Linked DNA regions of Homo sapiens: all the other regions are linked to region 1. The links are contacts of gene promoters, found by promoter capture Hi-C in blood cells and fetal thymus (Javierre and others, 2016). All regions are on one chromosome and are shown on one strand. The core of a region is centred on a gene start or on the middle of the fragment in contact, and the rest is flanking DNA. Distances in the headings are between cores, read along the strand shown.

Evidence for each region. The method cuts DNA at HindIII sites, captures the fragments that hold promoters and counts their contacts. A CHiCAGO score of 5 or more calls a contact.
Region 2: a contact is called between a fragment that was not itself captured here and the fragment with the promoter of CLCA1 in region 1, in 4 of 17 cell types (naive CD4 T cells, activated CD4 T cells, total CD4 T cells and 1 more). The highest score is 8.1, in naive CD4 T cells.
Region 3: a fragment that was not itself captured here is called in contact with the fragment with the promoter of CLCA1 in region 1 in 2 of 17 cell types (naive CD4 T cells and naive CD8 T cells); the score reaches 6.5 in naive CD4 T cells.

Annotation. Positions count from the first base shown.
Region 1 is chr1:86,466,852-86,470,471 of GRCh38, reverse strand. CLCA1 (chloride channel accessory 1) reads right to left here and starts at 1,545. Exons shown (of 14, transcript NM_001285.4): 1 at 1,339-1,545. The coding sequence starts at 1,500. The HindIII fragment of the contact is 8,280 bases long and covers 189-3,620 here.
Region 2 is chr1:86,750,538-86,754,157 of GRCh38, reverse strand. No RefSeq gene overlaps it. Among named protein-coding and RNA genes, the nearest start is that of SH3GLB1, 48 kb to the right of the region's middle. RefSeq lists an enhancer at 290-349. The HindIII fragment of the contact is 249 bases long and covers 1,587-1,835 here.
Region 3 is chr1:86,730,991-86,734,610 of GRCh38, reverse strand. SH3GLB1 (SH3 domain containing GRB2 like, endophilin B1) reads right to left here. Exons shown (of 9, transcript NM_016009.5): 6 at 1-9. Among named protein-coding and RNA genes, the nearest start is that of SH3GLB1, 28 kb to the right of the region's middle. The HindIII fragment of the contact is 496 bases long and covers 1,472-1,967 here.

The DNA of each region.
Region 1 (3,620 bases), core at 296-2,795:
CATATTGCTGAACCCCACTGTCTAGCCAGAGACTGAAACACACTGGTCACATGTTTGCTGATGCCACTTCCAAATTTAGAAACAATCAAAAACTCACTCAACATTTTAGATGATTGAGAGATTCAAGAGGTCTGAATCTCCCTTTTACCACAGACAGCCTGATCCTCTTTGGGTTAAGTAGGTAAGCTTTATGGTGAGTGACACCCTCCACTCTGTTCCCTATCCCTATCCCCTACTGCTGCAATTCTCTAACCACACACTGTAGAGATGGTTTTCTTTCCAAACATTATCTTTCTATATTTGCCTCTGCTTAGAGCAGTGGATCTCTGGGGAAATCCCTCTGGGCCCTTGTTCTATTAATTTTCCATCTAGAGAGAGCCAATGACTATATCCACCATTTATTGAGCTCTTACTATGTACCAGGCACTATGCATGCATTTTTAAAGTTATTTTTTAAAGTTCTGAGATAAATTTAGATGAACAGAAGACATGCAAAGTATTGCACCGTATTCTTACATACTCCACCCAGCTTCCCTTTATATGCATGCATTTTAAACTTTGATCCTCACAAAATCTGATAAGGGAGATATTTATTATTATTATTCCCATTTTACAGACTAATACTGTTACTAGTACAGCACTGCCTCTGGATGTGTTACAGCCAGATTCCAGGGCGGTCTTTTATAAAGCATTTCCCTCTTAGTTTTAGCTGTTTGTTGTTGTACAAGACCTTCTTCAATGGTATAGATACCCCTGCCAGGACAGGAAGTCTTCTTCCTTTCCCTTCTGCTACATAAGAGGTAGCAAGAAATCTCTGAAAGGATCCCTTGAATTGGGACTGATAAAATGCAAGGTTTTCTCCCATCAGAAGGTCAGGGTTGTTCTTATATCAGAGATTTGCATCTGGGGCTCCTTTTAGGATCACAGGGAAGGGGGTTCCTATTAGGAGAATAAAAGGAGAGTCTGACTCGTGCCAAGGGTAAAATCAGGCAAAGGATCTGTGCATCTCACAATATCTGTCAAATGTAGCTGACTCTGCCTTACTATAGAACTAAATAATTTTCAGTGACATAATCCACAGCAGTACATATCAATTTATCATTTATCAGTTGCCAACAGTATATCACTCTGAGTTATGTGCATTGCATTCATTATCTTATCTGACACAAGAATCCTAATGGTTAACTTGTTATTATTTCCATTTTACAGATGAAGAAACTGAGACTTAGACATAAAAATACATGCCAGTGTCGTGCAGCTGGAATAGGGCACTCATGTTCTCTCTATCACAACATTATGCTATTTTTAAAAAAGTATGGATAATTACTATGAACTTACCTTTATTTGTTGAATGAGTGTTTCATCTTCTGGCACATTGGGGTCGATTGCAACGACAATGCCTTCATAGCCATTGTTGTTCAGCTGAATGAGTGAATTACTCAGGGCCCCTTCTAGAAGGTGAAGAATCAAGATGAACACAGAACTCTTAAATGGCCCCATTGCTGTACATCTCCCTGTGATTTCTCTCTTTGGAAAATGCGGGTTACGAAGGTGTCTTTCTTTACCATTATATATATACAGATATGAAAATATAGACACACGTTTCCAACTTATCGGAAGTGGTTTATCACAGGTCTTTAACCCCCTGACCTGATGTGTTTTACTATTGCTCTTGTCTTCAATAGGAGAATGATAACAATATCTTAGTCTCAAATTGCGTACTTGTAAATATTTCCATCTGCCTTCAGCTGTGCCAGATGCTGGGGTAAGGGTGGGGGAGCCCACATCCGGTTCCTTGGAAGCACTCACAGGTGACAAGCAGCTTGGCCGCTGATAGGTTTGTTTACTTCTTGGAAATGTTTACCAAGCCATGGACACCAACCCACCCAAAGCCCCCAACCCCCTCCTGCCCAGGAAAATCCAGACTGTTCTGCTTATTCAGTAAACATTTTGTAAGCCATATATTCAGTTATCCCTCATGGTGGTCTTTACCACAATGGTGGTTTTGTTTACCTTGACATAACCTCAACACCTCTTCATGCTCCCCTTAAACAAGAAAATATTCAATTATATTCCACATCCATTTGTACCAAAAGCATTAGCAAGTGATGTAGATATTATTGACTATTTTATAATGGAGAGTAAAGATAAAATGTATATCTTACTTTGCAAAGCATACTCCAAGTTCCTCATCAGATTTCTGCTTTCTCTATTGCATAGCTCCTACCAGTCAATAAAATTCCAATTAACATCATTAAATTATTTTGCTGAAACTAAATGTCCCTAGGAACATGAATTATGGGCTGTCAGTGGCTGTGTATATTCTTTCAATTTGCCAAACCTCAGGTGGAACCTCAAATTGGCCCCCCATTTTCTTGTATTGAAATACTTGAAATATCTCTTCGTTCATAAATTCATTTGGTCTTCAGATGGTGATAAGCATTAATTTCATCTTGTCCATATGAACTTTAAAGTAGTTTTTTCCAATTCTGTGAAGAAAGGCATTGGTAGCTTGATGGAGATGGCATTGAATCTGTAAATTACCTTGGGCAGTATGGCCATTTTCACGATATTGATTCTTCCTATCCATGAGCATGAAATGTTCTTCCATTTGTTTGTATCCTCTTTTATTTCCTTGAGCAGTGGTTTGTAGTTCTCCTTGAAGAGGTCCTTCACGTCCCTTGTAAGTTGGATTCCTAGGTATTTTATTCTCTTTGAAGCAATTGTGAATGGGAGTTCACTCATGATTTGGCTCTCTGTTTGTCTGTTGTTGGTGTATAAGAATGCTTGTGATTTTTGTACATTGATTTTGTATCCTGAGACTTTGCTGAAGTTGCTTATCAGCTTAAGGAGATTTTGGGCTGAGACAATGGGGTTTTCTAGATATACAATCATGTCATCTGCAAACAGGGACAATTTGACTTCCTCTTTTCCTAATTGAATACCCTTTATATCTAGCATAATCTTAAGCAGTTAAAAGGGAAACACTGAAATAGAGTGGAAATGCTCAATTATAATGTGGTTGTCCAGATGATCCAAAATATGCTTTTATATCAAAATACATATACATTTATTATTCATACAAAATTTAAAAATGTAGATTCCAAGATATCTCAGACCCCAAATGTATGTGTCTTTGCCTGGGTTCCCTAAAAAACAGAGCCTAAGGCAGGCATATGTGCTAAGAGTTTGAGAGTTTAATCCCAGAGCAGTGAGAATGAGGGAATGGGGAAATGAGTCAGGGAAGGCTGGGAAGCAACTAAAGGAGGAGCATTACTAAGCCCTGCAATGGAGACACCCAGCAGGCCAGCCCACAGGCGCCCTTGCCTTCCTGTGTGGGTTGTCTCCTAAGGGGCTGTGCAAAGAAACCACGCCTTGGAGCAGCCCTTTGGAGAGAGGAAGGAAAAGCGTTTGGCTCCTTCTCATCTTCTACAGGTGATCATCTCCCCCCAGACTTCCTGGCTGTGTCATCCAGCCCTTTCGGCAGTCGCTTAGAAAGAGAGACCCCCATGCCTTGTGGTATGTGAGGAGCCAGGGGTTACAAGAGGTGGCAGCTTGACCTCAGGCAGTGGAACTGCTTGGACCTGCAAGGAGTGGATAGTGACTGAGGTGGAGCAAAT
Region 2 (3,620 bases), core at 462-2,961, 280 kb before region 1:
ATTATATCCTGAGCATGTTCACGTGCTTACCAAATTACTCATTAATGAGTGGTCTATTTATTGGATAGAGTCAGTAAAATGATATTACATTTTAGTTTCATTTGATAGCTTGGAGGTATTTTGGGGGGGCTGTCATTATCATCTTTCATTGTTTCTGCAGGTGAGTCAGCTTTGAGGTGAGAGACAGGTGGTTTCTCTGCTATATGTAAACAAGTGGCTCTCAAACATGTGCATCAGAATCATCTGGAGAGCTTATTGAACCACAAGATGGCAGAGTCCCACCCCTGACAGATTCCAGGACCTGCACTTTGAGAAGCCCTGACTTAAACCAACACTGATTTCTCTGCACTTTCAGCTGTGGCAGTGATGGCACTGGCAGCTCCCTGCTTGGCTTGATGACCTTTGTAGGTTTCTTTAGTTGGTTAAGCAGCAGTTTATAGCTGCTTTATGTTAAGAGCAATACTTTTTCTGCCCCAAGAAAAGTACTAACCTGGGAAGAGTGCAGGAAATAATGGACCATTGACCATATGTAGGGGGCACATTCCAAAAATAGGTGTCTGTGTTCCACACTGATTAAGAGCTTGGGCTTTGGAGTTGGGAAGGCAAGCAATGAGACTTCTTTGCCATTTTTCTAGTTGTGTGGCTTTCTAAATTCTGTTTTCTCGTCTGTAGAATGGGGGAAAGTATACTTTCTTGCCAGGTTTAAAGAAGGTAAAGCACATAAAGTGCTCAATAAGTGTTAGCAACTTTTTCAAGGGGATGTAAAAGCCCAATGATGCCTAAGACTGTGAGTGCCACTGTTCATATATACTCATTAGAATTCACTAGAATGTCTGAGCACAGAGTTGGTCCTTTTGAGGTCTAAGTCAGTCCAGGTAGAGAGGGATTTCTAAAGAATTTCTCACAAGGTGTTATTCAGCCTTTTGTAGAAAGCTCAGACTGAAGAGCTTTATACTCTAAAATATAAAGAAAACAACCCCATCAACGAGCTGCCAGTAGAAATGTGTATGCTGTTCAAGTTAATTCATAATTGTGGGTTTAACATTAGTTATTATTAAAACATGAACAACTTTGGCTTGTTTAGAACATGTTAGGAAGCAAGAGCTAGATGGACCTTAGAGATCATCTGGTTTAATCCTTTTATTTTACAGATAAAAAAATCTGTGGGGCTGAGAAATTAAGTGAACAATTTGCTTGAAGGTACGCAACCACAAATTTAATTTCTACTGGACTTGCTAGGTAAATGCTCTCAGAAAGAATGGCTTGTGGACGATTATAAAACCACTATCATTTCAGTCTTCTGTAACATGTAATTGATTTACATTCAAACAGCCTGGGTAGAAGGTAAATTCATTTAGTTTCCTAGGGTTATTATAACACAAATTTATCTTGAGGCATTCATCAGGAAGTTACATGAAATAAAGCTGGTCATTTTATGAGTATATGATAGAAATTGTTTTATAATCACACCATGCAATTGGAAGCATATGCTTTGAAAAACTTCAGGTGAATATGATCATGGTGATATTCTATGATGTGGCAGTTGCTGTGGCAATAATGGGGCTGGAAGCTCCATTATTGAAGCTTCAATTGTCCCATTTTTCCATGTGTAGAAGCAGACCTTGACTGTTTTCTGAGAAAAATCTTGACCCTTTCTCCAAGTACTGTTTTTTCTTTCAGAAATGGAGTGACTTTCTATATAGATTTCAGTCAATTTTTAGTGAAAAGAATTTAAACTCATTTTCTACATGATTGGTTAAAATATAAGGATTTGTACTCCATATTCTTGAGATCTTAACCTCCAGCCTTCAGCTGCCAAATGTCTATGAAAAGCTTTGTTATGAGAAATATATACGAAACTTTGCCTGAAAAGTGTGTAGTTCATTCATTACTTTAAAAATTGTAATAGTGACAAAATAGTAGTTAGAAATTGTTAAGTATTTACTGTATGCCAGTTACTGAGTCCAGCCCTTATGTGCATTATTTCTTTTAATCCTTGCAACTGGTGTTTCGCCCACTTTGGCATGCATCAAATCACCCGAGGGCTTGTTAAAACGCAAATTGCTTTGACCCATCCTTAGGGTTTCTGATTCAGCAGCGGCCCGAGACTGCATGTCTAATAAATTTCTAGGTGATGCTGATGCTGCTGGTCTGAGAAGTACTGTTTGCTACAAACCTAGGAGGTAAGCATTTTAATCTGTACTTTGTAGATGAAGAAACAGGTTCAGGTTGTGTCACTTACTGAACACACAGTTAATAAGGTGGTAGAGTTGAGATTTGAAAATTTGCTTTTTTGATTCCAAAGTCTATAGTCAATTTCTGTGCTAGGTGGTTTTGCAATAAAACATTCTGTCTGGGCTGAATAGTAACATTTTATAGTTCAGGAATAGAGTAGGACTCTATTGCTCCTAACACTGGGGTCCAAATATATTGAAGCATATGGATGCCATGAGATGGTACTAATCAATGCCAGAGTGTGGGATAAAGTAATACGGCCCTTAAAAGGGACTTTATCATGAAGGTAGAAATAGACAGGTGAGCAGCTCCCTGACACCAAGGGGAGCTATGGGACAAAGGGGAGCCTTGGTTCCAGGACTGCAAAGTGTCCAACAGTGGAATTTATCTTCACCAGACAATCTGGTGAGGGCTTTCTCCTGGGAGAACTGGCTTTGTGTGTGTAAATTTAAAGAGCTCTTGTACTTAAAAGAGAGCTGTGCTTTCTGGGAAGCCTGCGATTGAGTGCTAATAGGGAAGAAATGGCTCTCATCATGCCATAGAACTCTGACTTTCCTCTCTGTCTGAGGCAGCAGTGAGCCAAGCACTGTGGGCTGTAGGTAGCATTGAAGAAGGGGGTGGGTTAGAGGTCAGCAAGAAACACAACGTCTGGGTAACATACTTGTCACCACGTGGTTGCCTAGGCAGTGGGCCCCTGTTGTATCAGTGAGGAAAACTCTATCATGTAACTGAGGTAAGATTTTGAATCTTGATGAGCAACCTTATTGCAGGCATTCCATACCCACTTCTGTAGAATGGGCTATCAGATGCCAGTGGTGACCTTCCCATTTTACCGACTTTCAGCATGCTAAACCTCAGATTCACTGGCAGTGACCGCAGAAAGTTTCTGAGGCAATTAGGTTAGGAGTGTGAGCTGGGATAGAAGGCCTGTCTTCACTAGCAGGTAGAAAGAAGAGGATTGACTGTGGATGTGTCTCTGGAGATTCTAAAACATACACAGGCGAGGGGAATCCTCCACTTGCTGATGATCGGACAGGCCACGGCTCAGCGACATTGTGTTTCAGGGTGTTAATGTGAATAATTTTGTGCCCATTTATACTCTCAGTTTGATGAAAACTTCAATGCAGCAGTCATGTACAATTTAATCCATGAATCAGTGCCAGCACTGTGGCCTCTTAACTCCGCTTTGGTGTTGATGTCTCAGTGCTCTCTTTATGAGTGCTTCTTTATGAGTAGCTGTCTCCTGAGCAACCAGCATGTTTCTATATGTGAACAGTCAATCTGAAGCCAGATCATACATCTTTCTTTGGTTCTCAGAAATCTGGGTCAGATTTGTCATTCACAAATATCAATTGATCAAGATCTTCTATTATACATTTTCTCAT
Region 3 (3,620 bases), core at 470-2,969, 260 kb before region 1:
CTGTTCAGACTTAAGTAAGAATATAGTTTTAGAATCTCTTTAGAAGACTCAGTCCATCTTATATACATTTATTTTAGATGGTTAAAAAAAATCCCCCGAACAAACCTCAAGTTATAATCTGGCAATTCCGCAATTCTGCTTTGTATCTAAAATGGTCCCCTGGTTTCTAGACCTTAGCTTTTCTGTATTACTCCACCTGGACAACTGATTCCAGTACTTGATTGAAAAGAATCTGTTACGCTAAAGCTTAATGATACACTCTTAAGAGCCTACAAAAACTACTAAGAGAAAGCCAAGATATTTTCATAAATTTTCTAGTATCAATTTTGCTAAATTTTACTATTTTACAAAATTTTAAGATGACCAGTTTTACAAGTATAAAGTAATATTGCTGCAAAAATTCTCAATTATTACTACAGTTTTTACTTTGAAGTTAAAGAGTCTTCAGTCTCAAATGCAAAAGACTTTAGAGTGAAGCCATAGGATTTTCACCTTGCGTTTAGTTGCCAAACACTTGTTGCTAGCACCAGTTTTTAGGTTCATTCAAAGGATTCTTTGTCCTACATTTTAAATGTCTTTCTTTCAAATTTTCTTTTCAAACTATGCATAAAAAATGTCTTAAGCAGAATACTATCTATTAAGATACACTAGGGTTTTAAAAAGCTTTTTAAGTTATGATCGAACTTCAATCAGTAGTGTGCTGTTAAATTCTTCCCCAAGAAATAAAAAAAAAAGCTCTCATATCCAGATTTTCATGATATAAATACTCCCACCACAGCTGATTTCCAGCTACTAACGTGAAGTCACACACTGTGGAGCTGGGAAGAGATGTAAATAACAGTATGCCACTACTGGTTTCAACCATCTGATAAAGGAGGCTTACTGCTGCGACAAAACAGTTCACTGAAAAATCAACAAGATCTAAAAATAGCAAATAGTGGCAAAAAACATCTTCTCAAACCTTTAGTCAGAGTTGGTTGTTAATAAGTGGGAAAGAGAAATAAAACCTCACAGCTTACTCAGAATAGTTAGCTTTTCTCCCATTGGGAATTATCATTGGTTACATCATCATTATAATGATAGGTTTGACTACCTCTCCAGCACAAATAGCATTTTCCACCTATGCAAATGATTCATGACATTTCCAAGATGTAATAAAAGTAAAAAAAACGAAAAACAAAAAAAACCCAACAAGGTATGAACTTTTTTCTTTCAGGCCTCATCTCCCTCTCCTCATCCTTTGGTGGCAATAGTTACCCTAGTAAACCAGTCTACAAGGAAGTAGCAGCAAAGTAGATAATCAGTTGCTGTAACAGCCCACTGGCAACAAACCTAGCAGAGGGGACTAATAATTGACCTCTAGCTTGGACTTACGGAAATAAGCTTGAATTAGTAAGTCAGAAGTTGAAATTAAATTTACTTGACTAAAACCAGAACCCATGGTGTTTTGATAGCAGGGACAAAGTAAGCTTCATCTGGAAGCTGGTATGAAGTAGAAAAAAGTCCCAGAAGAAAAAAAGAAGCAATGTTCTTCCTAAGGAGAGCACTAAGGAAAACCAATCACATCAATATTACATATGCACTATTAACTGTTCTGCTTGGTTGAATACAAAAGGCTTTGAGTAACAGAAGTAAATACAGCAAACCAAAAATAAATGCACTTCAGAAATAAACTAGGTTAGTTCCATATAGGTCTTTGATTGTCAAAGTACGGTTTAATTTAATGGCCTTTAGTAGAAATGGCAGAAAAATCCTACTAACTGACATTATTTCTAGGTAAGGTAATAAGCAAGTAAACTAGGTAGCAGATTAAGGTGACCGGGAAGATTGAGACTGAAGTAGAAATAATATTTTAATGCTAAGTACACTGAATAAAAAATATCAAATGATCTCATTAAGGATGAGGGATCAGGCTTCTAGGTTTGAGTAAAATTTAATCATGAAGAAAGGCACCATGTTACAAAGCTTAGGAGGTCCTTCTGTACAATCTAGACTTTAGAGAGGGTAGATGATAGGGAAAAATGCATCTCATTTCTTGAACAAGTTTTAGTGCATATTGGGTGGCTTCAAACAGTCAAATGTCCCAAATCATCTATACTTCTGGCATATATAATTGATCATAATAACTGATCTGAGAGGCTAAAGGAATTTAAATTAGGCTTAGCATAATCAATTTACTTCGGAAGAAAATGATCCACATTAGAAAGATAGATAAGAAAGGGCTGATATTCTGTCGTCTAAAAAATCTCTAGGGAGAAGACCTTCTACTGCTAAAAGTAACTGCTACTAGACTACATGATAGCATAACATAGGTTAGGTAAGCCAGAAGAGTTTTTTCTAAAATGTAACTGGAAGATGGGCAAGAATCTGTTGGCCCACGATATCAAGATTGGGTATCTGTAAGCCCTAAATTTTGGTAATGCTTCTGAGGCATTTGCTGTGACTATCTTGATCAGTGTTGACTACTATTCATATGGCTTAAAATCTTAAAATACTCCAGGAATGTAAAGTCTTAACATTTATACATTTTCATTTATTTATTTTTTGAGATGGAGTTTTGCTCTTGTTGCCTAGCTTGGAGTGCAACGGCTGATCCTGGCTGACTGCAAACTCCACCTCCCAAATTCAAGGGATTCTCCTGCCTCAGCCTCCCAAGTAGCTGGGACACCATGCCTGGCTAATTTTGTATTTTTAGTAGAGACAGGGTTTCACCATGCTGGTCAGGCTGGTTTTGAACTCCTGACCTCAGGTGATCTGCCCACCTCGGCCTTCCAAAGTGCTGGGATTACAGGTGTGAGCCACTGCTCCTGGTCATTTATACATTTTTAATTATAAAAATGTCAGAAGTGAGATATGTAGAAGAAAAAAACCCCTGAAATCCATTTTGATAGGTTTCTTTAGATTTTTATATATATGTATATAATATGTTTCATGAGTTTCTTCCCATGTATTGTATCAATTATTTCCTAAACTTGCTGAGACTGCAAAATCAAGTCAGAAATTTTCTGGCATATCTTTATGCCAAAGAGGAAGACATTCTAGTTTTTTTGTTCAACCTGTATTCTCTTCTGTGTTGCTCTGCCCCTTTTCATGCTAGAAGTTCAGAGAGAAATCAGAAGCCAGTGTGGAACCGTAACTAAACTGATGAACAGACTCACAAAGGGGGGATAAGAGCATAAGGTAAGAATTTCATACTGGAGATCCAAGTCACAGAATCAACAGCTCTATAACCTATGCATAAAACAGACTGTAAAATCAATCCTACAAAGCCAGAAAATAAAAGTTAAAGTTTATAAAGCTATTGTCAGGGGCCAAAATCATCACCTGTCCTCAGTCCCCAGTGTTATCCTCATGTGGATGTCAGAGTTTGGTAGGCCTAAACATAAGAAGTAAATGAAAAATGCTTCTGAAGACTTAAAAAAGCATTTGAAACAAGTCTGCATGTACTATAGTTTATAATTTTATCCCTTAAATTCTTGTTTAATTACTTGCTTTCCCAGCCCACAGAAGATTAGAAATGGTAACACAGACAGAACTGCTAGCAGCAGTCATACAGACAGCTTCTAGAAGCAACAGTCTGATACTGAGGGAAGAGACAACATAGTCGAAAAACAACAAAT